Linked DNA regions of Homo sapiens: region 1 is linked to region 2. Evidence: promoter capture Hi-C in human tissues and cell types (Jung and others, 2019). All regions are on one chromosome and are shown on one strand. Each heading gives the region's core, a stretch centred on a gene start or on the middle of the fragment in contact. The rest is flanking DNA. Distances are from core to core; before and after follow the strand shown. Region 1 overlaps RELT (RELT TNF receptor). Region 2 holds the start of CHRDL2 (chordin like 2).

Region 1 (5,768 bases), core at 140-2,639, 1.3 Mb after region 2:
ACTTTTTATACTGATTTTATATTGAAATGAAAATATTTTGGATAGACTGGGTTAAAAAAAAATTAAGTTCACCTGCTTCTTTTTACTTTTTGAAATGTGACTGTCAGAAAATTTAAAGTCACATATGTGGCTCACACTATTTCTGTGGGACAGCCCTGCCTCTAGCTAGGGGCTTTGGTGAGAACCAGATGAGTTGATGGGTCTCCTCTGGGCCCTGCTTCCCTGGCTGCTGAGGTGCAGGAACTGTGAGGGGAGGGCAGCCTGTCACGGTGCCCAACACAGGGCAGGGCTGGACAGGTACAAGTGGAACAGGCGGATAAGCTGGGAAGGGCACAGAGAAAAGGAGCTCCTCGTGACAGCACTTTCCCACCTTTTATTATTCAACACATGGAAGGGGGTGGAGACACAAGGATAGGGCAATGGTGAGTTTCAATAAATAAGAGAAACAGGATGGACAGGCAGTGGGCCCATGCCTGCACGGCCCCACATAAATAACCAGGTTGCTGAGCCAGAGTGGAAGTCAGGGCTGGGCCTGGCAGCCGCCTGCACTGCCCAGAAGCACTGGCACCACAGGGACACAGAAACCACTGAGGCCCAAGGTGTGCTCCAGCCCCACCAAGTCTTCTCCCTAAAGCTCCTGAGATCTTGGGGCTGGCTGGGCAGGCTAGGGCTCTGTATCACAGTCCTGCCGGGATCAAGTCTATTTTTTCAGTTTCATTAAAAACAGCTGGGGGAGGGGCAGGCACATGCATTAAGCCCCTTCCGTAGGCAGAGCCATGGATGGACAGCCCCATGGGGGCCTTGAAGGCAGAGGCCCTGGAAGCAGCAAAAACGGGGCTGGATAAAGCTACTAATGGGAGGGATGGTAGAGCCCAGCTCCCCAGTCCCCCACAACCCAGCCCAGAACCTACAAAGAGCTGAAGAGGCCCTGGGTACTGAGACGTCTCTCCTTACTTCACAGTCAGAAAAATGGACCCAGCGATGGCCACAGATGTGCCCAAGATTAGAACCCAGGGACTCACTCTCCTAGCCCAGGACTTTCTGCTACCCCTTCCCTTTATAGACCTGCTGGAAGAGGAGGGGGACGCACATCTGCTCTAGGGCCCTGTACAGAGGCAAGGGTGTGGCTAATTACCAAGGAATGGGGCCAGGGGTGACGGGCACAGGCCCCTCCCCTCTGCCAAGCCCAGCCTCTGATGATACAGAGAATCCCGTGGGCTCCTAGGATCCAGCCAGGGCAGGCACGGGGGTCGGGGCATCCTTCAGGGGAGCAACATGGCAGCAGGGCCAGGGGCGGGGCTCAGCCTGCTCCTGTACACAGTGCCCGCCGGCCACCTGCCTCCTCACTGGGGCAGACGCTCCCACCTCCAGGCCTTGGTCTTTGCTGTCTCGTCTGCTGGGCCATTGCTTCTCGGTCCTCACAGTCCCAGCTGCAGCTCCACCTCCTCCAGGAAGCCTTCGGAACCTCCCAGGGCAGGGCCGCAGTGTCCTTAGACTAGACCGCCCCTCAGATGACCAGGTTGCTCTCACTTAGCCGGACCACATAGCGGTTCTCCTGGTGGGCAGGGGTGAGGGGTCAGAGCTGAGTCAGGGGCTGGCTTCTGGCTCCAGGAAAGTGGCCCCTGCCTAGGGCCCGCTGCACTTCCACCCCTGCCCCGTCTTCGGTCAGGGTTGGCCCAGGTGCCAACAGATGCCTTTCTCCTTGACTCTCACCTCGGCCTTGTTCTCTGCTGGGGGCTTCAGCCACTTTGTACGGCTTCCGCCACTTCCTAGCAGGGCCTGCTGCTCAGGGGGGAGGCCAGGCTGTGGGGAGTCAGGGAGATCACCCCACGAGGGCCCAGCCTCCGTGATGGTCTTCACCTCAGACACCATTGAACTTGTCCGCTGCTCAGGAATTCGAGCCACGCGGAACCTGTGAGGAGAGTGGGGCAATCATCCCCGTTAGCGGGGATCCCGGGGCACAGAGAAGGCAGCACGTGCCCGGGGTCACACAGCAAGTTCATGGACCAGAGCCTTAGCCTGAGAGGCCCGGGTGCCATGGGGGCCAAGATGCTGCCCTAGGGATGCAAGGGCTCCATGTGAGACACAACATAACCGGAAAGTCCTGATCTCTCTGGCCGCCTCCACTGCCCAGAGAGGCCCAATAAGGGCAGGGCTCCCATTGAGCAGGGTGCTCAGGGCCCAAGCTGGGGCCCTGCCTCCCCCTCCCGGCCCCCAGGCTGTCACGTCTTTACCTGCCCCTGCTGCATCTGTGCCCATCTCACCTGCCCACAGACAAGATGGTGATCTCGCCCTGACGCCCTGCCTTGGCCCCGGCCTTGGGAACCCTGGTCGGGTTAGGCAGAAGGCTGGGAACAGGAGTAGTGGCGGCTACAGCCTCAGGGGACAGCAGCACCTCGGGCCACTTCTTCTGGCTACAGCGGGAGCAGCAGGGGCCAGAGAGCGAGGCCAGGCCCTGCACGGTGTGGAGATGGTGGCGGTGCGGGCAGATGTGTGGCACGTTCGGGGGCGCTGGCGGCAGCCTGCAGGGGGCACAGGCAGAAGTGGCCATAGGCCAGGCCAGGGGCAGGAGACCCCAGCAGGGAACAGGGTGACTTGAGGGAGACCCAAGTGGGAGATCCCCAGGAGGCAGGCTGGTTAATGTAGGTTTTGGCCCCGTTATCTCCCACCAGCCCACTCACTTGGACACAGGCCTGTGGCTCGTCTGCACCAGCTGTTTGCTGTGGTACTCTTTCAGCAGCTCCTCCAGGGCCGCAGCATTCTCTGTGGGTAGCTGCAGTCAGACCCTCACTGTGGCCATATGGGACACACCTCCCACCCCCTGCCCCAGCAGAGAACCCCCCACCTACCCTCCATACCACCACTCCCAGCCTGGGCTGTGCGCCTTTTCCTCCCACTTCATCAGGCAAGAATGGGAGGCAGAGGTGTGCACTCCTGGGTCAGAGAGCACCAGGCTGCTTGAGGCACCCTGGCAGGGAAGGCAGAGCAGGGCAAGACTCTGCCCACCGCGGCTGCCTCACAGGCTCCTGGAGGAAACCCTCCTCTCCTGGGCACTGGGATGGGGTCAGACCTTCTCCTCACCTTTCTTCTCTGTGATCAAGCGCACCAGGACCCCAATGGTGTCCTCATTGGCATCCTCAGTCCGGTAGGCAGGGTTGATTCCTGGGGAAGAGAAGGGCCCTGATCCTGGGGAAGAGGGGGAAGCCGCACTCCTGAGCTAAACCATGATCTGCCAGCAGAGGGCAACCCTGGCCTTCTTAAGGGCCCTGAGCATGTGCATTTAGGTGACAAGCCTCCCAGAGCCCTGCAAATGTGGGATCCAGGCTCAGAGAAGCCCATATCACCTTCATGATTCAACACCAGTGCTTCCTGCACCCAACAGCCCGGGTGCATAGAGGCTTCAGGGCCACGTGAACTCCAGTCATTGAATTGGGCGGGCGAGGGGGCGGTGCGTCAGCGTCTTCTGGGTCTGCACTGTCTCCTCCTCAGCCTCAAGGAGCTGTGGGCTGCCACCCTACCCAGAACTCCCCAAATCTACAGCAAACTGCTATTCCATGGCCTCTCTACTGTGCCCTATGTAACAATTTAACTGAGTGCCCCTAGTCAGCTTTGGGCCCAAATCTCAAGGGTGTGAGAATGGGCCACGATGATCAGCCCTGGGCCCAGCAGCAAACAGAGCTCCCAGGACTTGCACCCAGGCAGCATCCAGCAGTTAAAGGGAAGTCTCTAGGAAAACAAGCACAGTCCCAGGCAAAATGGCCCTGAGTCACCACGTTTCCTCCTGCCGGCTTACTGCTCCTGTCCGCTTCCTGCCCCCGCCAGACTTCAGTGTCAGGACTTAGAAGGGTCTCTGGCTCCCATGCCAGCCCCAGACAGCCGAGGGTGCTAGCATGGGAGATGCCATTTCACTCTTGAGGTAGCCACAGGCTCCCATGGGCCCAGGGCAGGGTGTGTGCGAGTGGGCCCCTGCCCTGCAGGGGAGTAGTGGTGTGGGGAAGAAGGAAAGGGGCCCGGGGCCCTGGGGGTGAAGGTGGTGGCGCATGCCTGTCCCTCCGGTTCCAGGCCTTGTAACTCAAACTACAGCCTGGAACCAAAACCCGAGCCCCTTATGGTGCCTGCCCAGGACAGGACAGCTGCCCTGCCAGCCCTCCTGCCACAGGGCACTCCTGCTACTCCAGGCCAGAGGTCAGAGGTCACCTTGAGTAACTCCAAGGCCACCATCCGACCCTGGAACCATACACACAACTGTGGCCTCCAAAGAGTCCAGATCCCCACATCTGGGCAAGGCTTCACCCAGGGTAGGATCCACTGAAGCCACTTGACCAGCTGTGCCACCTCTGCTCTGCCCCCACGGCCACACCTTCGTCCCCTTACCTTTCCTCCCATGTTGTCAGTCTGCAGCTATCACCTCCCAAGCCTCTCCCTCTCAGACCCCAGAGGCCAGGCAGGATTCCGCTGGCAGCCCCCAAGTGGAGCTGGGGCTGGGCTCGTGCCCCCGTCCTTCCCACCTGGACCCCAGCTGGGCCTCACCACTGCCTCCACCTCCAGGGCCGGGCCCGACCTCCTTGTGCGCCGTGCAGTGGTAGCCCTTCCGCTTGAGGAGGTTGCACACCAGGATGCCCAACAGCCCCATGAGGCAGAAGACAGGGACGATGGCGATGACCGCGTACTGGGCGGCTGTCTCCTCTGGGCCACCTGCCCGGGTGCCGTTCCCAGGCTGCCGTGTCTCACCACCGCTGCTGGCCCCTGCTGCCACCTCCACGCCACGTCGGGCCCGCCGCCCCCACTCTGAGCATCACAGACGATGGAGGCAGGACAAAAGCAGAGTGACACAAACACAGAGAGACAGGGGCCCAGGGCCCGAGTCAGTGGGGGCTGCAGGAGAGCCAATGTGCCCAGGGGAGCCCACTCCCCGCCATGCTGGGGATGCAAAGGTCAACCCACTGCCCTCCTGTTTTCCCTTCTGGCCATCGAAGCATTGTCCTGAACAAGGCCTCCTCAGGACGGCCAGACACCCAGCCCCACCCTCCCCTCACGCTGGGGTCAGGGGGTGAAGAGATGGCACACAGGACACATGTCTGGGCACAGGGACGTGGGATCTGCCTCCCTGTGGCCTGGCCATGAATCTAGTGCCTCAGGGGGTGACTGACTCAGTGGCGGGAGGAGGTGCGTGTGGGTATGTGAGTGTTTGCATGCGCACACTCATCTGCATGGGTTTTTTTAGGCAGGGTCTCACTTGTTGCCCAGGCTGGAGTGCAGTGGGGCGATCACAGCTCACTGCAGCATGAAAATCATGGACTCAAGCAATCCTCCCGCCTCAGCCTCCCGAGTAGCACCACCACGCCCGGCTAATTTTTTATTTTTATTTTTTGCAGACAGGGTCTTGCTATGTTGCCCAAGCTGGTCTCAAAGTGATCCTCCTGCCTTGGCCTCCCAAAGTGCTGAGATTACAGGCATGAGCCACTGCACTTGGCTGGCATGAATCTCTTTGAAGGGATGGGGACAGGGGACAGGTCAGTATGTGAGTCCCCAGCCCCCAGCTGTGGCTGCCATCTGCAGGACACTCTCTGCCACTCGGAAGCATGGTGGGCAGAAACAGCCAGGGGAGCGGCTGACTGTGCCCTGCTGGAGACCCTTTGGCTGCACGCCCTGCCCTGGGCTGGAAGAAGGACCCCACTGCCCCCACATGAACACTGCAGAGGCTGCTGGGCTCCAACTCACTGGCCCCTCCCGCACATACCCCTGCACCAGTCCTAGCCCCAGTCTGC
Region 2 (5,595 bases), core at 2,712-5,211:
ATGTGCAAAGCTGTGTGTTGAAGGCTAGGGAAGATATTAAATAGTAGTCTATGTTCTCAAAGAACTCACTATAGAGGAGGTGACACAAAACCTATTGAAAATACAATGTAGTAAGTGCTATAACAAAGAAGTATGGAGCAGAACGGAGCTAACTCAGAGACCAGCAAAGAGGATTCAGAGCACCTAGAATACAAGTGTCGGTGTCTGTCTTGTTCTCCACTGTGTCCCTAGCACCTAGCACTATGTCTGGCCCAGAATTTGCACTCAATAATTGTTGCATGAGTGAAGGAGTTAGCAATTACCTTAACCCTTGAAAAATAAGTAAGCTTGCCAGACAAATCAAAGTGAGTACAGAGAGGGCATTCCAGGGCGAAGAAACAGTGTTTGCAGAGTCATGGAGGCCCAAGAGCTTGGCACATTTGAAGACAATGTTTAATATGGCATGAGGGGTCCCGGGACCCAGACTGGTAAAGGTGAAGGTATGGAAGAGGGGTTCTCTGCCCCAAATCTCTAGAGAGCTCTCAAAAGACAAAAGGACTTGGCTTGTTCTGTATAGCCCTGGGGACAGAGTGAGGGGCAACACAGGCAGTCACAGAGAATCAGATTTCAGTTTAATATAAAGAACTTTCTAACAGAGCTGTCCAACAGTGGAATGGGCTGCCTTGGCAGGCAATGAGCAAGTTCGCTATGAAGGAAGAAAGCAGATGCCAGATAAACTCTTAGTGCAACAAACTGCTATGGGGAGATGCATTTTTTTTTCCTGACTAGATTTTGGAAGAATTTATTCAGTCTCCTTTTTAAAAGGGTATTAAATAATATATAGACAACTCTCTTCAATAGTATTTCTACAGAAGACACAAAGACTTTCTTTCTTTCTTTTTTTCTTTTTGAGACAGTCTTGCTCTGGAGTGCAGTGGTGCAAACACGGCTCACTGCAGCCTCAACCTCCTGGGCTCAAGCGATCCTCCTGCCTCAGCCTTCAGAGTAGCTAGGACTACAGGTGCGTGCCACTATGCCCAGCTATCTTTTTTACTTTTTGTAGAGACGAAGTTGGGGGGGGGTCTCACTTTGTTGCCCAGGCTGGTCTTAAACTCCTAGGCTCAAGCCATCTTCCCACCTCAGCCTCCCAAAGTGCTGGGATTACAGGTGTGAGCCACTGGGCCCGGCCTGACACAGAAACTTTCAAGTGTTTGTTTCTTATGTCAATCATTGACTAAAGCTGAGGCCAATAGTGGGCTGAAGGCTTTTCCAATCACTGAGGTCTTCACTCATTCATGTAGCAATTATTTATTCAGTATCTGTGTGTCAAGGACTTTGCTAAATGCTCGAATTACAGATATAAATTTCAAAAGGCACCTGCACTCACAGTGCAGGGTAAAAATGCAAATAAATACTTACACTCCAACAGCTACAATTCAAAGTGCTATGGGAAACACAAAGACTAAACATTGACTTTGCCTGGGGGACTCAGGGAAGACCTTGGAGTGGAGGTGACTCAACTGACCTTTGGAAAGTTAAATGGGATTCACTAGATGGAGGAAGAGAGAGTCCAGGCAGAAGGAAAACATGTGTGAGGATATGGAGGTGCGACGACGCATGGTCAGTTTGGGGAGGTGAGCGGTTGGCCAAAGTGTAGGGTAGGTGGCAATGGTAGATTGGAACTAAAATATGCGTGGTGTTCAATTCAGTGCTGAAAATTTTAGATTTTAACCTATAAATGATAGGAAGTGAATAATAGGTTTTATGTGGGAAAGTGATGTGATCAGATTTGTCAGTAGAAATGATCAGCATAGTTCTCAAGGCAGGTGTGAGGAAAATAGATAGGAGAGATCCAGATTAGGGGGAGGAGACCTGGTAAGAGGCTGTTGGGAAAGTTCAAGTAAGGAATGAAGATGGCCGGGTGCGGTGGCTCATGCTTGTAATCCCAGCACTTTGGGAGGCTGAGGTGAGTGGATCAGCTGAGGTCAGGAGTTCAAGACCAGCTTGGCCAACATGGCGAAACCCCATCTCTACTAAAAATACAAAAATTATAGGTGGTGCATGCCTGTAATCCCAGCTACTCGGGAGGCTGAGGCAGAAGAATCGCTTGAACCCAGAGGCAGAGGTTGCAGTGAGCCCAGATCACGCCACTGCACTCCAGCCTGGGCGACAAGCGCAAAACTCCATCTCAAAAAAAAAAAAAAAAGGAATGAAGTTGGCCTCAACTCTGGGGATAATAGGGATGGACAGGAGGGCTGAGATGGTGGAGGCCTTTTTTGAAGTATGATGGGCAGGATGTAGGGGAACCCATCTTAATCCACTTCTTACATCTAAGACATGAATATATGTGCACAGCACATTTTAAACAAAGAGAAAGGAAAAGATCACTGTCCCAAACCCTTGGGATGAGATTGTTTATGCAATTAAGCAGCACAGGATTTAACTCTGAGATCCCTGGAAGCAAAGGCAAAAAGGGAAGCATGGTGACATGCATAAGCTTGCACTATCTGTTAAAATAAAGAATACTCAGGGGAAAGGAAGAGACTGGCCAGATTAGAGTAGAAATTAAGCCTGAAGGGCACTGGACAGATCATGTTTGTCCCTGATCCTGAGAGCCCTAGGAAGGGCCAGTTTGGGGATCACTGGTTCCTCCTACTGCTCTCTTTTGGAGGGTGGAGATCTTGGGGGTAATACCCTGAAAGCACAGTGCAATGGGGAGCCCAGCCTTGGCCCAGAAAGATACCTTTACAGCCAGCCAGCCAAGTGTTTAAACCCGGAAATATGATTCCCTACCAGAGTGGGATATGGCTCAACATCCCTTCCCACCTCATACTCCTCTGGCACTCTTTGGAGTCTCCATTAGCTCTTCAAGAGAAGCTGGGCAGAAAGTTGAGGTCCAAAGCAAGGATAGATGTATTTACTCAAAGTGGCCCAACAAGTTACGGATGGAGCCAGGACAGTGACTCTGCCCTTTTGATTTCAGAGCTTGTGTGTTTCTGGTCTGGCCAGAGCTGGCTATTCTCTTCTTAGTGTCCTATTAGTGCATGTGTTCATTCAACACAAGAGATGGAGCACCATTTGAGGGCTGGAGGGTGTCAGGGCCCTGTCCTCAGGGAGCTCCCCTTCTGGTGGGAAAGAAAACTCTTTGACAATCAGCTCTCCCTAAAGATGACTGAAGGTGACCATCACTCCCAGAGAAGTGCAGGCCTCACCTGCAAAGGCAAAGGAGAGATCTTGCCTTGATTCGGGAGTGGGAGCGGGGAGCAGAGGAAGACCTCCAGGGGAAGGCACAGGATCCCTATGGGCTGACTTTCCTGAGAATGGCGCATGGGCAGACGGAGTGGGGACAGGGGCCACTGGTATTGTAGGCACCTGGAATTAGGACCCCTTCTCTTTGTGGGGTGAGTGTTTCGACGTTCATTACCTTATTTCATCTTAGCAACACTCGTGGGAAGATAGTAGAGATATTTTAAGATCTTAAAATGCCCATTTTAAAGCTGGGAAAACAGACTCTCCGGTGGCGTGCTGTAGACCACAAACTGAATTAAGAACGCCAGTGTTCTGATTCCATCCATCTGCGGAGTTCCGGGCACGCACCGCCGAGCGCCTTACCCTGAGCCTTCCCGGTACCCGCAGCCCCGACAGCTCAGCCTTCCCCACCTGAAAGTTCCACCTGAGGTCTCCCTCAACTCTGCCCTCCTGCATTCTTGGCGTCGCGGGGAGTCAGGGGTTAAACCCCGTGGCCCGCGTGGCCCCTTCCCCCTCCGCAGCCCCCTCGCCTCCACTCGGCGCCGCGCCTGGAGCGTCCGTCCCGGAGACCCGCACAAGAGAGGAGGGGAAAAAGTGGGCCTGTTTCTCGGGTGGCCAATCCACCGAGCCCGCGGTGCCCCAGAGGAGGCGCCAGCGCTAGGCCAGCGCCAGGCCGGGCTGCCTGCTTCCCGCGGCAAAGTACAAATGCGCCCGAGCGCGGCGCCTGAAGCCCTTGGCGAGCACAGCCGGCCCGCGCTCAGCCTCCCTCCGCGGCCGCCGCGCCGCCGCCGCTGCTGGGACCGCCGCCCCGCCGGGCCCCAGGCCCCCGCGGCCCGACCCCGAGCCCACCGAGCAGGGGGCGCCGGCCGCCTCTAGCCCGCGCGCCCGCAACACCCGCTGGTCCCGCGCGCCTCGCCCGGCGCTGCGCGCTCGGCAGACGCCGGTCCTCTCCCTGCTTTCTCCTCCTCTCCCTCTCACCTTCCCCCTTTCTTTGATCGCCTCTCCCTTCTGCTGGACCTTCCTTCGTCTCTCCATCTCTCCCTCCTTTCCCCGCGTTCTCTTTCCACCTTTCTCTTCTTCCCACCTTAGACCTCCCTTCCTGCCCTCCTTTCCTGCCCACCGCTGCTTCCTGGCCCTTCTCCGACCCCGCTCTAGCAGCAGACCTCCTGGGGTCTGTGGGTTGATCTGTGGCCCCTGTGCCTCCGTGTCCTTTTCGTCTCCCTTCCTCCCGACTCCGCTCCCGGACCAGCGGCCTGACCCTGGGGAAAGGATGGTTCCCGAGGTGAGGGTCCTCTCCTCCTTGCTGGGACTCGCGCTGCTCTGGTTCCCCCTGGACTCCCACGCTCGAGCCCGTAAGTAGACCGGGAGGCTGGGTGGGCAGAGGAGGGATGCGGCCCCTGGAATGTGAGGGACAGCGCCAGGACCTGGACCCCAAGCTCTTCTGACAGCCGTCCAGGCAGCACCTGTGCCGGAGGGGTGGAGACTCCGTGAGGACCAGTATGGGCCGGGGGACCGGAGGAACTCGGCACAACTCAGAACTGAGAGAGGGCTGCTGCCAGGGACCTGAGGAGGGGCACCAAGGGCAGCGGGGGGAGAGGGCAGGGCACTGTGTTTTGGGTTGGGGGAGGACTTACTGTTCCTAGGAGGGAGTCGGGTATGTCTGGCTACAGGTAAGGAGTGTGATGGAGAAGAAAAGGCTTTTTGCCTTTGGAAAGAGCCATTGGACAGAAATGAGAGGTAATTAGGATAACCTTCCCATTCTTTTCTCTCTTTTGATCCTCGCAACTCTCCAGTGAGGTGGGTATTATCATTCGCACTTTACAGATGAGAAAACTTAGGCTGAGCAAGGAGGAACTTGCTAAAACTTACAGAGCGGGTAAGCCATCCAAAGCCAGAACTCTAGTTCCAGATCCCATGCTTTATTCCCTGCCTCACATTGTCTAGAAGGAACCCTGAATTTGCAGTGTGAGACTCTGGGAGGCGGCAGGGCACAGTGAGATAGACCAGCGTCTTCACCATCCCAGCCCCGCTGAATGCCAGCTGCTGGGAGGCCGTCACAGAGTGCACCTCTCTGACCCTGGGTTTCCTAATCTATAAAGCGGAAGTAAAAATCCTAGGAGAGTTGATAGGATTAAATTAGAGAAAAGAGGTAAAGCAGCTAGCACAAGACTGGTGCTTGATAGCTTCCAAAAAAAATCAGTTCCCAATTATGCTTTTCCACATAGATACAGTGTAACATCAAACAGGTTACATCATCAATCTGAGCCTCAGTTTCCTCACTGCGCCCACAATAGGCTGGTGGTCCCCCCTCCCCATGCCCAGCCAATCTCTTAGAATGCTGTGAGGATGGAAAACCAAACCACATTC

The links. Contacts are between HindIII fragments. The study calls those that stand out against the background at their distance.
Region 1: a contact is called between a fragment that was not itself captured here and the fragment with the promoter of CHRDL2 in region 2, in 1 of the 25 tissues and cell types used here (small bowel).

Annotation. Positions count from the first base shown.
Region 1 is chr11:73,391,231-73,396,998 of GRCh38, reverse strand. RELT (RELT TNF receptor) reads right to left here. Exons shown (of 11, transcript NM_152222.2): 6 at 4,531-4,788; 7 at 3,082-3,162; 8 at 2,682-2,763; 9 at 2,265-2,522; 10 at 1,714-1,912; 11 at 1-1,555. The coding sequence ends at 1,508. Among named protein-coding and RNA genes, the nearest start is that of RELT, 18 kb to the right of the region's middle. The HindIII fragment of the contact is 5,281 bases long and covers 1-4,029 here.
Region 2 is chr11:74,729,792-74,735,386 of GRCh38, reverse strand. It overlaps CHRDL2 (chordin like 2), which reads left to right and starts at 3,961. Exons shown (of 11, transcript NM_001278473.3): 1 at 3,961-4,580. The coding sequence starts at 4,499. The HindIII fragment of the contact is 7,141 bases long and covers 1,402-5,595 here.